3 separate regions of the Homo sapiens genome follow, and all the other regions are linked to region 1. The links are contacts of gene promoters, found by promoter capture Hi-C in blood cells and fetal thymus (Javierre and others, 2016). All regions are on one chromosome and are shown on one strand. The core of a region is centred on a gene start or on the middle of the fragment in contact, and the rest is flanking DNA. Distances in the headings are between cores, read along the strand shown. Region 1 holds the start of GOLGA7 (golgin A7). Region 2 overlaps TM2D2 (TM2 domain containing 2). Region 3 holds the start of PLEKHA2 (pleckstrin homology domain containing A2).

Evidence for each region. The method cuts DNA at HindIII sites, captures the fragments that hold promoters and counts their contacts. A CHiCAGO score of 5 or more calls a contact.
Region 2: a contact is called between a fragment that was not itself captured here and the fragment with the promoter of GOLGA7 in region 1, in 1 of 17 cell types (neutrophils). The highest score is 5.2, in neutrophils.
Region 3: a contact is called between the fragment with the promoter of PLEKHA2 here and the fragment with the promoter of GOLGA7 in region 1, in 1 of 17 cell types (naive CD8 T cells). The highest score is 7.9, in naive CD8 T cells.

What each region holds. Positions count from the first base shown.
Region 1 is chr8:41,489,074-41,492,869 of GRCh38, reverse strand. It overlaps GOLGA7 (golgin A7), which reads right to left and starts at 2,288. Exons shown (of 5, transcript NM_001002296.2): 1 at 1,905-2,288. The coding sequence starts at 2,015. RefSeq lists enhancers at 1,658-1,767, 1,818-1,927, 2,218-2,347 and a silencer at 2,398-2,657. The HindIII fragment of the contact is 7,658 bases long and covers 1-3,796 here.
Region 2 is chr8:38,988,407-38,992,642 of GRCh38, reverse strand. TM2D2 (TM2 domain containing 2) reads left to right here. Exons shown (of 4, transcript NM_078473.3): 4 at 1,098-3,835. The coding sequence ends at 1,311. It overlaps HTRA4 (HtrA serine peptidase 4), which reads right to left. Exons shown (of 9, transcript NM_153692.4): 9 at 3,980-4,236. Among named protein-coding and RNA genes, the nearest start is that of TM2D2, 6.0 kb to the left of the region's middle. The HindIII fragment of the contact is 6,930 bases long and covers 1-4,236 here.
Region 3 is chr8:38,899,841-38,903,811 of GRCh38, reverse strand. It overlaps PLEKHA2 (pleckstrin homology domain containing A2), which reads right to left and starts at 2,466. Exons shown (of 12, transcript NM_021623.2): 1 at 2,367-2,466. It overlaps LOC124901937 (a long non-coding RNA gene), which reads left to right and starts at 2,367. Exons shown (of 2, transcript XR_007060893.1): 1 at 2,367-2,599; 2 at 3,116-3,971. RefSeq lists silencers at 1,795-2,464, 2,545-2,954 and enhancers at 3,555-3,804, 3,865-3,971. The HindIII fragment of the contact is 6,068 bases long and covers 918-3,971 here.

The DNA.
Region 1 (3,796 bases), core at 1,039-3,538:
CATTTAGCTCAAATATATGAGGTGTAAGTGTTGCTTTAAAACCTTAAAGCAAAGGAATCTTTAATGTCCAAATAATTGTGGTAAAAAAAGAATACTTTATATTCTGATTTTGAAGTACATAAATTGTATGTCATAGTTTCCGTAAGAGGCTTAAAAATAAAACATTTGATTGATTCCATGTATATCTTTTTATTTGATTTATTTTTTGAGACAAGAGTCTTGCTCTGTCGCCCAGGCTGGAGTACAATGGCATGATCTCGGCTCACTGCAACCTCCGCCTCCCAGGTTCAAGAAATTCTTCTACTTCAGCCTCCTGAGTAGCGGGGATTACAGGTGCCCGCCACCATGCCTGACTAATTTTTGTATTTTTAGTAGAGATGGGGTTTCACCATGTTGGCCAAGCTGGTCTTGAATTCCCGACCTCAAGTGATGCACCCGCCACGGCCTCCCAGAGTGCTGGGATTACAGGCGTGAGCCACCGGGCCCAGCCAGATTCCATGTCAATCTTAACATGTAAAACACATCAATTGTGATGTTAAATTATTTTAAAACAACATTCAGTAGCTCTACCCAACTGGCCACTTGCTGAATTTCTACCTCTTCAAACCACTGTAGATAGTTCCACCTATTGTCACGCTCAGTTAACTCATAACATAGTTGACAACATACTGCAGCATTTAAATGGCATTTCAGAAACAAGTCACCTCACCATCTTTTAAAGGCATATTTGATCCATTTGCAATTCAAGAAACATATTTGGGCCATGAAGCTGCCCATGGTTATGTCAAACTGAAGGAAACTATAATGGATCATTGTTGATTTCCCAACCATGGAAATCGGGCAGTGCAACCCACCTCACTGCAAACTGACTGTAAATAACTGCTACACATTTCTCTACACAGACTCATCCACACCCACTTATCCCATGACCAGCATCTCTCAGTCCCACACCCAAGGAATGCCTAATCACCTCTCAGGCCCTCGTCCTCCCTGTCACAGAGGAGAGAGCCACAAAACCTGCTTCCAGCTAACCAGAAATTGATCCCTGAACGGGAAACACAATCTACATAACATGGGTCAAGACCAAAAGAATCTTTGGTTGAATGTACATATGTGGGCACACAAAAACACAGGCAGGCACGCACACACTCCATTACCTCTACAACAAGATACAATGATTTTTTTTTTTTTTTTAAAGTTTTGCTAGGTCTGAAGGGGAAGCAAATCCCATTCTTCCATTTTTGCCTGCAATGTTGCCCAAAGGACCTATATCCTGATGACCATTTTGATATGCAAGACAAAACAGGTGGCTCCCAGTGAATGTGACAAGTTTAAGGCCTTGTTCTGAGACATTTTCCTGTCCAGGCCTATCTAACGCCCGACGTCTTTAAGGTTCCAAGAAAGCCTGAACGCACCGCCTGGCCATGCACCTAATAAACCCTTTCAGCCAAACAGTGCGGCCAGCACAGAGGCAGCAAACACCAGTCACGAGAATGATGATGATTTATCTTGCGCGGAGAGGTAGGAGGATATAGTTTACAACCTGGTGACTGAGACGACCTGGAGCCTCAGGAATTGGCTCCTCATCGCTGCCGACAATAACCCGGGGTGGGGATTTGGGGGAGTGCAGCAGGGGAACACTGCTGGATCCAGATTCCCGGCACCGGGCAACAAAGTTCCATAAGGTCGTCAACCCCGGCGATCGGCCTATATTATTCTTCCTGCTCCAAACACCTGTCTTGCTTAGTGGCTCTCTTCTTACACGTTTGGCCAAGGCCCCTTCTGTGCCTGGACCTCCCCAGAACTGCGGGACCCTCAAAGGCCCGGTTGTCGCCCACACCCTTCCCGTCCCCGGTGAGTCTCTCTCCCTCGCCAGAGCAGGCGTGGGGAGCCAGGTTGCGTACCCGGTTCTCCAGCTCCGCAGGGAACTTGGTCTGGAACTGGCAGCGTGTGCCACTGCTGTAGTCTCGCTGAATGAACACCTTTCCGGACACCGGCGCCTGCTGCGGCCTCATGGCGAGGACAGGACACCCCGCGCTGCGGGGTCGGGGGAACACCAACCGCGAGTCAGAGCCCCGGCCTGGACCCGGGACTCTGACCCGCCAGCCCCTCGCCCCCACCCGCCGCCGAAAACAGCCCAAGGCCTCCTCTGCCCCGCTCCCCTTCACCCATGCTGTCACCGCGGGCCTTAGCTGCCGCCTGGCCCAGGCCCCGCGCCCCCCACAACCCGGTTCGGCCCGGGAAACACAAACCCGCCTCCTCTGCCCTCCAGCTGCTGTCGCACCGCCTTCGCCGTCACTTACGTCCTGCCGCAAAAAGCCTCTTCCCCGCCCCTCAGCTCGGCCTCCTACCTCAGGTCTGGGACCCACCCTCTCCTCCGGCCGTAAAGCCACCCTGCCGAAGCTGCGCGCTGTGGGGCTGGGCCGAGGAAGGGAAATGATGTGGGCGGGGCCAGGGCCGACCCCGCCTTCCGCCCGCGCGGGGATTGTTTCCGGAAGGAGAGAGGCGGGGCGAGCTGTGGGGCTGCGGCCGGGGCGAGCTGTGGGGCTGCGGCCGGCGCGAGCGCGCGGGGGTGTGAGGGGCGGAGTTTCCCGGCTGTGTCACTTCCCTAGTGATTGTGGCAGGTGGTTCCCGATCACTGATTGTGAGGGGTCATTTTCGTTCTTGATTGGACGTCGCAGCTTACGTGTGGGTTATGCCACCCAACTCATACACAAAACAAAAAACAAAACATAAAGAAAAAACAACACCCCCTCCCCAAACCCTCAAACACAAACTGCTCATTGTGTTCAGAAGTAGAAAGCAGGCTCCAAGGATGGATCCATTTGGTCCCTAGACTCTTGAGAAAGGGTCAGGAAGTGAGGACGAAGAACCTGCCTGGGCCCCAGCGTTGGGCGCCCCTGCCCCGACTCTTCTTTGGGGGCGGCGTTCCTCTCACCCCCCATTTCCACCCAGCTCCCATCCACATCCCTCAGGTGACCAAGGGGACAAGTGGTTCCGCCCTCGTTGCCCACTGGCCCTTACTTGACTCAGCATTTCTTTGCAAGGCAGCCAAAGAAACCCCACCTTACCCTTGTCTCCTGCTAATACAACCTGTTAGTACCACTGTCTTTTATATATTTAATATAGTTTAAATATCCTGCCTTTTAAATATGAAAAATTCTCTTACTGTATTTTAAAAACAGCTTTTTCGAGATATAAATGGCATACAATAAACCACACATTTAAAGCAGTGGATTTGATAACTTTGGACATATGAATACACCCATAAACCACTGTCACAATCAAGATAGTAAAGCTCCATTGCCCTGAAAAGGTTCCTCCAGCTCCTGTGTAATCTCTCCCTCCTGCCTCTCCCAGACCCCATTTCCCAGGCACTGATCCACCTTCTGTCACTCAACATTAGTTTCATTTCCTTGAATTTTATATAAATTGAATCATATAGTGTGTACCCCCTTTTTTTGCCTGGCTTCTTTCACATAGACTATTTTGAAGTCCATCTGTTGTTGTGTTATCAATAATTCATTTATTTTTGATGCTGGATAGCTATTCCATTGTATGGCCATCCCACAGTTTGTTTATCCATTCATCTGTTGATGGACATTTGGATTGCTTCCAGTTTTGGGATGTTACAAATAAAGCTGCTATGGACATTCATTTGCAAGTCTTTGCATAGGTGTGTAGACCTTAATGCTTTCATTTCTCTTGGGTACATACCTAGGAGTAGAATGGCTAGATTGTACGGTAAAAACACGTTTAACTTTTTGGCAGACTGACAAACTGTTTTCCAAAGTGG
Region 2 (4,236 bases), core at 834-3,333, 2.5 Mb after region 1:
AATCCAACTCTGCAAAAGTCAGTATTTGTTCTTAGAGATGCTCCATATCTTAGCAAGTATTCTGTTGAGACCCTCTACCAACTAGAGATTCTTAGAGGAGAGTAAAGTAAAGGTGAAGAGGGTGTATTATAAAAAAATGCGTATTTTTTTTTTTTTGGAGATGGGGTCTTGTTCCATTGCCCAGGCTGGAGTGTAATGGCACAAACAGACAAACAGGGCTCACTGCAGCCTCGACCTCCTGGGCTCAAGCGATCCTCCTACCTCAGCCTCCCGAGTAACTAGGACTACAGGTGTGCTCCACCACACCTGGCCTTTTTTTTTTTTTTTTTTTTTTTTTTTGGTAGAAACAGGGTCTCGCTATGTTGCCTAGGTTGGCCTGGAGCACCTGGGCTCAAGTGGTCCTCTCATCTTGGCCTCCCAAAGTGCCGGGATTATAGGCATCAGCCACCACCATGGTCAAAAAGTTTTTTAAATTATTGTACATTATGATGTTTGACATCTTAAAAACCTTTCTGGCTGTGAAGAGACTGCTCTTCCTGAAGCTAGTCATTTCTTAGAGATAGCAAAGGGCCCAACCAGCAGCATGCCTTTGATATGCAAACTAGTCTAGAGACATATCTTCTGTTTCTGGCCTGTACACCCCAGGAAATAATATTCCTCTGCCTTAGTCTTCTCAGGTCCAAGTGCCAGGCAACCAGGGACCACTCCTATAGCTTAGAGCCTGCTGAGGTTATTCAAACTAGCCAGTTCTAAACTATTCGCCCTGCCCTGTCTTGCCTTTCCTGCAGAAACCCCAATGAAGATAGTGGCCAAAAACCTTCCCCTCCCTTCTATCTTCCAACCACCCTGGTATCTTTGCCAGGTAGCCTTGTATAACATGATGTGCCTCCTGTCTCTGGGACCTATGAGTATAATAAACTTTGGTTTTTCCTGATCCTCTCACCTCACTGACCATATCATAAAAGAAAACAAAATGGAGGGTAAAAGGCCACAGAGGGTCCACTGCACTGTCTCATCACTTACGTTAAATTCACTAATCCTTAAGGGTTTAAATTTTCGTGCAGTAAAACATCTTCCTTTTCATTCCTTTCACCTAGGTATACCGGACACTACTTCATAACCACTTTACTCTACTCCTTCTTCCTGGGATGTTTTGGTGTGGATCGATTCTGTTTGGGACACACTGGCACTGCAGTAGGGAAGCTGTTGACGCTTGGAGGACTTGGGATTTGGTGGTTTGTTGACCTTATTTTGCTAATTACTGGAGGGCTGATGCCAAGTGATGGCAGCAACTGGTGCACTGTTTACTAAGAAGAGCTGCCATCATGGCCCAGGGAGGCGGGTGAAAGCTCCGTCTTCTGAATTCATCTCTACAGGCTCAAAACTCCTCTTTGATATCAGACCTGATGTTATTTTCCTTCTTTTGGAGGGCATTTGTTTGGTTAAGAAGGCTTCTTTGGACTTTGGAATTTCAACCCAGATTTTACCTTGCAGACGGAATGACAAGCAAAAAGTGTTGTGGGGAATCAAATTTGTTCCTTTCCTCATGCACAAAACATAAAGGATAGTGGCGAGTTTACAAGCTGTGGATGGGTTTCCATAGTCTTCCTTTCTGTACATTGCTATATCTTCAGTCCTTTGGAGCAAGTGGACCTAACAAGTTGAGCAAAATGAATATTTGGATCCATGTTCCTCTTGTGACCCTGAGTCTTCATGCAAGGAGATCTGAAGCTGAACAATGAAAATCTTCAGCAGAAATAGAAATGGCCGTGGATTGTAATACACACTGAAATTCTGACTTTCTGAATTTAAATGTAGAATAAATTTTACCAACTTGGAGTACTGTATGAGTATTTTCAGTAGGGGGAATAAACTCAAAATTATATTTGTTTTGCAGAAACCTAGTCATTTGAAATGAGCCATCCTATTAAGCCCTCTTTTGTCTCCATTATGTTCCAGAGGCAGTATATGCAGTGCAATAATTTTTTCATTCCACTTATGTTTTGAAAGCCAGCGGCATCAGATGTGTGAGTTGAGCTATTCCTCCTGGCAGAATTGTCCAATCTAAAAATCAGCGTTTACCAGCCCATGCTAATAAAATTAAGATTTCATACAAGTTTCTGTAAAACTATTCTTCATGATTAGCTCTCCCTGTGGGCTGCAGCAGTCAGAAAGAGATAACAGCCACACCTCTGCATTCCCCGGTCACCAGGAATAAAAGGAAATGTTCCAGATTGTAAGTGGTTTTAAAAACTCAGTTCTCATCGTTTGCAATCTAAGTTGAAAGAACTATTAAATATAAAATCAAAGGTGGGCAATGTGGCCAAGTCAATGGAAGAGGCTTTACTCAGAATAACTTACAAATTCTAGAAACAAGGTAGAACTCACTCAGTTTACCTAATAATAATTGAATTTAAGACCAAATATCACAGTTGAAATAACTTCCCTGGATACATTCTATCATTTTGTAGCTTTCCTAAGAATTTCTTGCTTTATCATTCCTGATTAATCACTGTTTTTACATTATTAAAGGTGGCAATTTTCTGTAAAAAATTTAAAACAGATGATCCTATTCTGTCTTGAAAGTTCTGTACCACACTGACCTTAACCTTGCTTATAACATAACAATTGGTAAACTTTTAATTCATAATCTTTATACCCTAAGATAGTATTTATTAAATTTTTATGGGTCATGAAGAAACTAGACCCTCTCCCCAGAAAAATCTACATACACAGAATTTACATAGAACTTGGGTTCATCTACACAATTTATGCATGAAATAAAATTGTACTGGTACCCTATAAATTTATACAAATAAAAGAGTTTAAGGGAGTTCAAGGATGCCATATGTATATTTTAAAAAAATTTCTAAGGGAAGTCTAAAAAACATAAATTATAATATTACCCAAAATAAGATGCTACTTTTCACCTAACCAAGTCCTGCCTCATTTCACACTTTAACCTCCTAAGTATATTCATAACCCTACCAAAAGTTGTTTTCTTTAAAAAATAAGAAACTTTAGGGCCAGCGCAATGGTGCAAGCCTGTAATCCCTGCACTTTGGGAGGCCGAGGCAGGTGAATCCTTTAAGGTCAGGAGTTCGAGACCAGCCTGGCCAACATGGTGAGACACACTCCCCCACCCCCGCCCAGTCTCTAGTAAAAATGCAAAAATTAGCCGGGCGTGGTGGCGTGCACCTGTAATCCCAGCTACTCGGGAGGCTGAGGTAAGAGAATCACTTGAACTGAGGAGGCAGAGATTGCAGTGAGCCGAGATCCTGCCACTGCACTTCAGCCTGGGCAACAGAGTGAGACTCTGACCAAAAAAGAAATTTTGCAGCTCCAAGGCTTGAAGTCATTTATGTTGCCAGGGGTAAGAGCTTGGTTGAAGGGCTAAAAGACTAGAAACTACTGAAGATGCCCTTCTTACTGTCAGTAAAGCTGCTGGAGACAAAAGAAGTTGTTCTCGCTGCTAGAGTGGTAATTTGAGAATCATCAGTATTCCTATGTGACAATCCAAAATTACTGGTTTTCATTTGACTTGTAAATGACACCCATCATCCATCTGCCCACAAACCTGGCCAAATGTGATACAACCTGAAAACCTGATGGACTAAAGGAGTACTATTTAACAATTGATTGCCTTTGCACTTTATTCAGGTTGTTTCTTAAATTTTGGTAGACAGATCCATTTGTATATGTGTGTGTTATATCTAGTTTATGGCTATAGAGAAGGTTTAAAATACTACAGTGTCCTTCCCTCAAGGTTAAATTAGAAGCTGCCTGCCTTTTAGTTGTTTCTTGCCTTTAATAAAATGTTATCAGTTCCCCCAGATTTCCTGGCACTGTGTTCTTCTTCCACTTGACATAGTCAGGCATCTTAGCAACAGTATAGTACCCCAACCTAATGATCCCTGAATGTGTATATGTGTTTCAAACTCCATTTTTCTTATTTTTTAATTGTAATCTCACAACATTACCATTTTTCTTTTTATTTTTATTTTTAAGTTCTGAGGTACATATGCAGGATGTGCAGGTTTGTTTCATAGGTAAATGTGTGCCATGATGGTTTGCTGCACCTATCAATCAACCCATCACCTGGGTGTTAAGCCCAGCATGCATTAGCTATTTTTGCTAATGCTCTCCCTCCCTCTACCCTACCCACTGCCAGGCCCCAGTGTGTGTTGTTCCCCTCCCTATGTTCATGTGTTCTCATTGTTCAGCTCCCACTTATAA
Region 3 (3,971 bases), core at 1,217-3,716, 2.6 Mb after region 1:
CGAGCCACAGCAGTTTCCGTGAATCAGAAGAGATATTCTGATGCACTGTGGTCTGCAGCAAGCTCTCATCTGAGTCATCCAGCCTTTCAGCAGGGGCATCACCCACCTGTCCATCTGTCCCATGAATTGGACAGGAGACCAACGCTGCTTGGGTCTTCCTAGTATCCTAGCACTTCGGCAAACACTTGGCAAGGTAGTGGGAGGGCTGCTCTGGGGCTCAGCTGATAGGGCTCATCAGCCTTCCCCTTCCCACTTCTGCAGAACAAAAACCTGCACCAACCAAAACCTGCATGTCTTCAAGATTTATTTTAACCACTCAAAAATACCGAGCTGAATATGGTTCAGCTCACTACCATGACATGATGGGATCTGCAGGCCCTATTTCCTTAACACAGAAGAGAGAAGAAAGCACCAATGACAAGGAAAAAGAAAGGGTTGCAAAAACTCTTCACCAAAGGGCAGGCAGTTTCTCAATCAATACCAAGGTAATTACCAATCTGTGAAATGAGCAAGGCTCCCATTACCAGCTAGCTAAAACCCCACTAGGAGTGCCATAGACAATTTGTAGAAAGCATGCTGTAATGTACAAACAGGGTCAAAGGATACTTAGGTGTAAAGGCAACATCCGGACTAATAACTCCCATGTACCAGCTTGGAGAACCAAATCCCTACAGGTTTGAGGAACAACCACACTGCTCTTTTCTCTGCCATTTGGACAAGTGCAAACAATTCATGTGTTTGCATTCATTCATTAATGCAATAAACATTTACTTAGCACCTGGTACATGTCATACGTTGGGCTGGCCATAATCTAGACTACAAGCTAGACCTCTGATAGTGCAAAAGTCATCTGCCTTCAGGCGGCACATGGTGAAGAGGGCTAATGTCTGAGATGATGATGATGCTTTCTAAAAGCTTACTCTGGCTTCTCAAAACAAGTGGGGGGCTTACAAGTCCTGTAAGCTCGCCAAAGACAGGGTCCAGCCCTCCAGAGGTAAAGGAAAAAGAAAAAATAAAGACAGGGGTTGTGTTTTGTTCATCACTGCCTTGCATGTATAATACATGTCAACTGAATGCAACTGAAATAGAAAGCAAAAACTTCTATTCTTTCAAGATCTTTTGCTTTGCTGTTTCGGAAGGCTTCGCAACCAAAGAAAAAAAATGACAAAAGAAGGGAAAATGGGACTTGGTCAGATAGATTAAGAACACCATTAGTGCAATCTTGGGACTTCAGCCCCAAGTGCATCTACAGCTCAGCCTTCAGAGCCCCCAGAGCCACAGCTGGCTTTCTGGTGGGGTGCTCTCCCCTCCCTCTTCTCTGCCGTTTACTGTCCTCTGAAAACCCCACTTGGAGCCCTAAAGAAAGAAAGGGGGCGGGCAGGAAGAAGGAATGAGAAGGGGAAGATACATCCTGAACCTGCGTTCACCAAGAAGGAAGGAAGCCAAACCCTAAGGCTAGGGCCTGGGGGCAGGGCTGGCCCCGGGGAGGAGATGTGAGGGTGCTCCGGCCGCAGCGGGCCCTGCGCCCCTCTCTGGGCGTGCAGGGACACTTTTCCCTTCTAAACGGCCTAGCTTCCCACCACCCCCCCCCACACCCTTCTTTTCTCTTTCTTTTTAAAAAAATTTTGGTGAAATCGTCTTTAGGACTGGAGGAGAAAAGGGAAGCGTGTAAGGTGAGGAAGAAGTTGGTGAGAGAGAGAACGACAGCTCCCCTCGAGGGCTCACCCAACCTGGCACCGAACCTGCATTTTAGGGCAGTCCTTTTCACTGTCTGGAGTTCCAGAAGCCCGAAGTCCAGGCTGCACCCAGAGGAAAGGACAGGAGTCCCTAGGGGAGCCTTCTAGGCCTGTCATTTAATAAGGTAGTCGGGGGAGTGAAAGAGGAGTCTCCATGGCCCAATCCGTACCCAAGGGACTTGCCTGGGGACGTTCTCTGCTCTCCTCCCCTCCCGCAGCCCGGGCAGTCGTTGCGGGGTCGGTGCCCCAGCGCCAGAACCCGCAGAGAAGTTTCGCTGCTGCAAACGTGAGAAAATGCAGCTCAGCAGAACTCCCGCCCCCACCCTCTCCGCGGCCCCACCCCCCGCAGCCCGACCCCTGGCGGCGGCGACCTTGGCCACCCGGGGCACTTGGAGGAGGGGCTGCCCTCGGGGCTCTCCCAGAGGGTTGGAGGAGGCCTCCAGGGTCTGCGGCCACCTCCCCTCGCCTGTCAGCCACTAGGACCGGCGTATTCAGCCCTGCGCGCGCGCCCCTCGCGCCCCTAGGCCGCCAGGCCTCCGCCGGGGCGCCCCCTGCACCCCCAGCCCCGCCAGCCCCCGCGCGCCCCTCTGCGCCTCTCCACTCCCGAGCCCGCGAGGGCGCCCAACTTACCCCCCCGTGCAGGGGCCGGGGCTCGGGCGGGGCGCGTTACATCGGGCGGGGTCGCCCCTCCGGCCGCCGGGTCCGCCGCGCTCCAGGGATTTCTGGGTCTGCCTGCCAAACTCTCCGCGCCTCTCGCTCCCCTCGCTCTGGTCTCCCCCAGTGCCCCCTCCTTCTCTCCCGTCCCTCGGCTCTTTTTTCCGGGTTAATTACGTTTCGCATTAAAGCAAAACCCAGCCCCGGATGTGAGTACAATGCTCCGCGGAGCCCGCCGGGGAGGGAGAGGGGTGCCGGGGCGCCGCGGGCTGGGAGGGGGTGCGGCCGGGCGCCGGGGCCGCGCGGGGGAGGCGGGGGCGGGGCGCCCGGAGGCTGCGCCCGAGGCCGCCCGCGTTCCGCGCCTGGCAGGTGGGACCTGCGCGCCGAGACTGCCCCGCGGGGAGGCCCGGCCCCGACGCTCGCTCGGGCAGCAGGTGTCCGGGCAGGGGGCGTCCTCGCAGGAGGAGGCGAGCTGGAGCGCGAGCTCCCTCAAGAACCCCATTTCCTCCTCCCAGAGCCCCACCCAGCGACCTCAGCTGGGCCTCCTTCGGATCCCGAGCCCTTAGCCTTTGGGGACCGAGGAGTTGGGGTAAGGGTTAGGGTCCCAAGAAGAGTGGCTTCTTCAGGTTGTCCTAAATGTGCCCTAAGAGACCAGTGGGCGGGAACGCTCTAACCAGGGTTATAAGGACTTTAATTTCTTTATTTTATTTTATTTTTTAATCAAGACAGGGTCTGGCTCTGTCGCCCAGGCTGGAGTGCGGTGGCGCAGTCATAGCTCACTGCAGCCTCGACCTCCTGGGTCCAGCGATCCTTCTGCCCCAGCCTCCCGAGTAGCTGGGACCACAGGCGCCTACACCGTGCCCGTTGGGACTTTTTCGGTGTGATGCGAAGACTCCCTTCCTGCCCCCAGAGCATGAGGGTGCTCTGGGAAAAAATGGGAAACAGACAAGCATGTGTTACTACGTAAACCTCGCCAAGAGGAACTAAGAGAGCTGCTGTGCGCGGGTCCCGCCCCTGCGCTATCTCATTTGATCCACGCCGCAACCTATGGGTACCAGTCCGGTTCACGGTGAGGAAACCGAGACTCAGACTTGTGAAGTAATTTGCCCTGGGTACCCAGTTAGTAAACGGCAGGTCTGTCAGGTTCTGACTCCGGCCTCCCACGTCGGGAGAGAGACATTTGAATATGCATCAAGTCAGGTGGACAACATCCGAAACATGAAAATGTAGAAGATTCGCGCGGGCCTGCGGGGCCGTGCGCCGGTGTCTGGCGATCCTAATGCAAACGTTGTTAATCAGGTGTAAATCCTACGAGGCTTTGAAAGAGGCAGGCATAAGAAGACGCTGAGGTTCTCCAGGACAAGGACTGGATTTGCAGGAAGGAGGGAGAGGCTGGGGCACATTCCCGGTGTTAACAGAGGAAAGGCGGCCTCTTATGTCTCCACGACCGACCGGAGGCCACAAGGCCTGGGGAGGGGGGCTCGGGCCGATGAGCCAGGACCGAGGGAGAAGGACAGCCCGCCCCACACACCCCGAAAGCACCAGTGATGAAACCACACAAGTTTCCTCTTCCATTTTGAT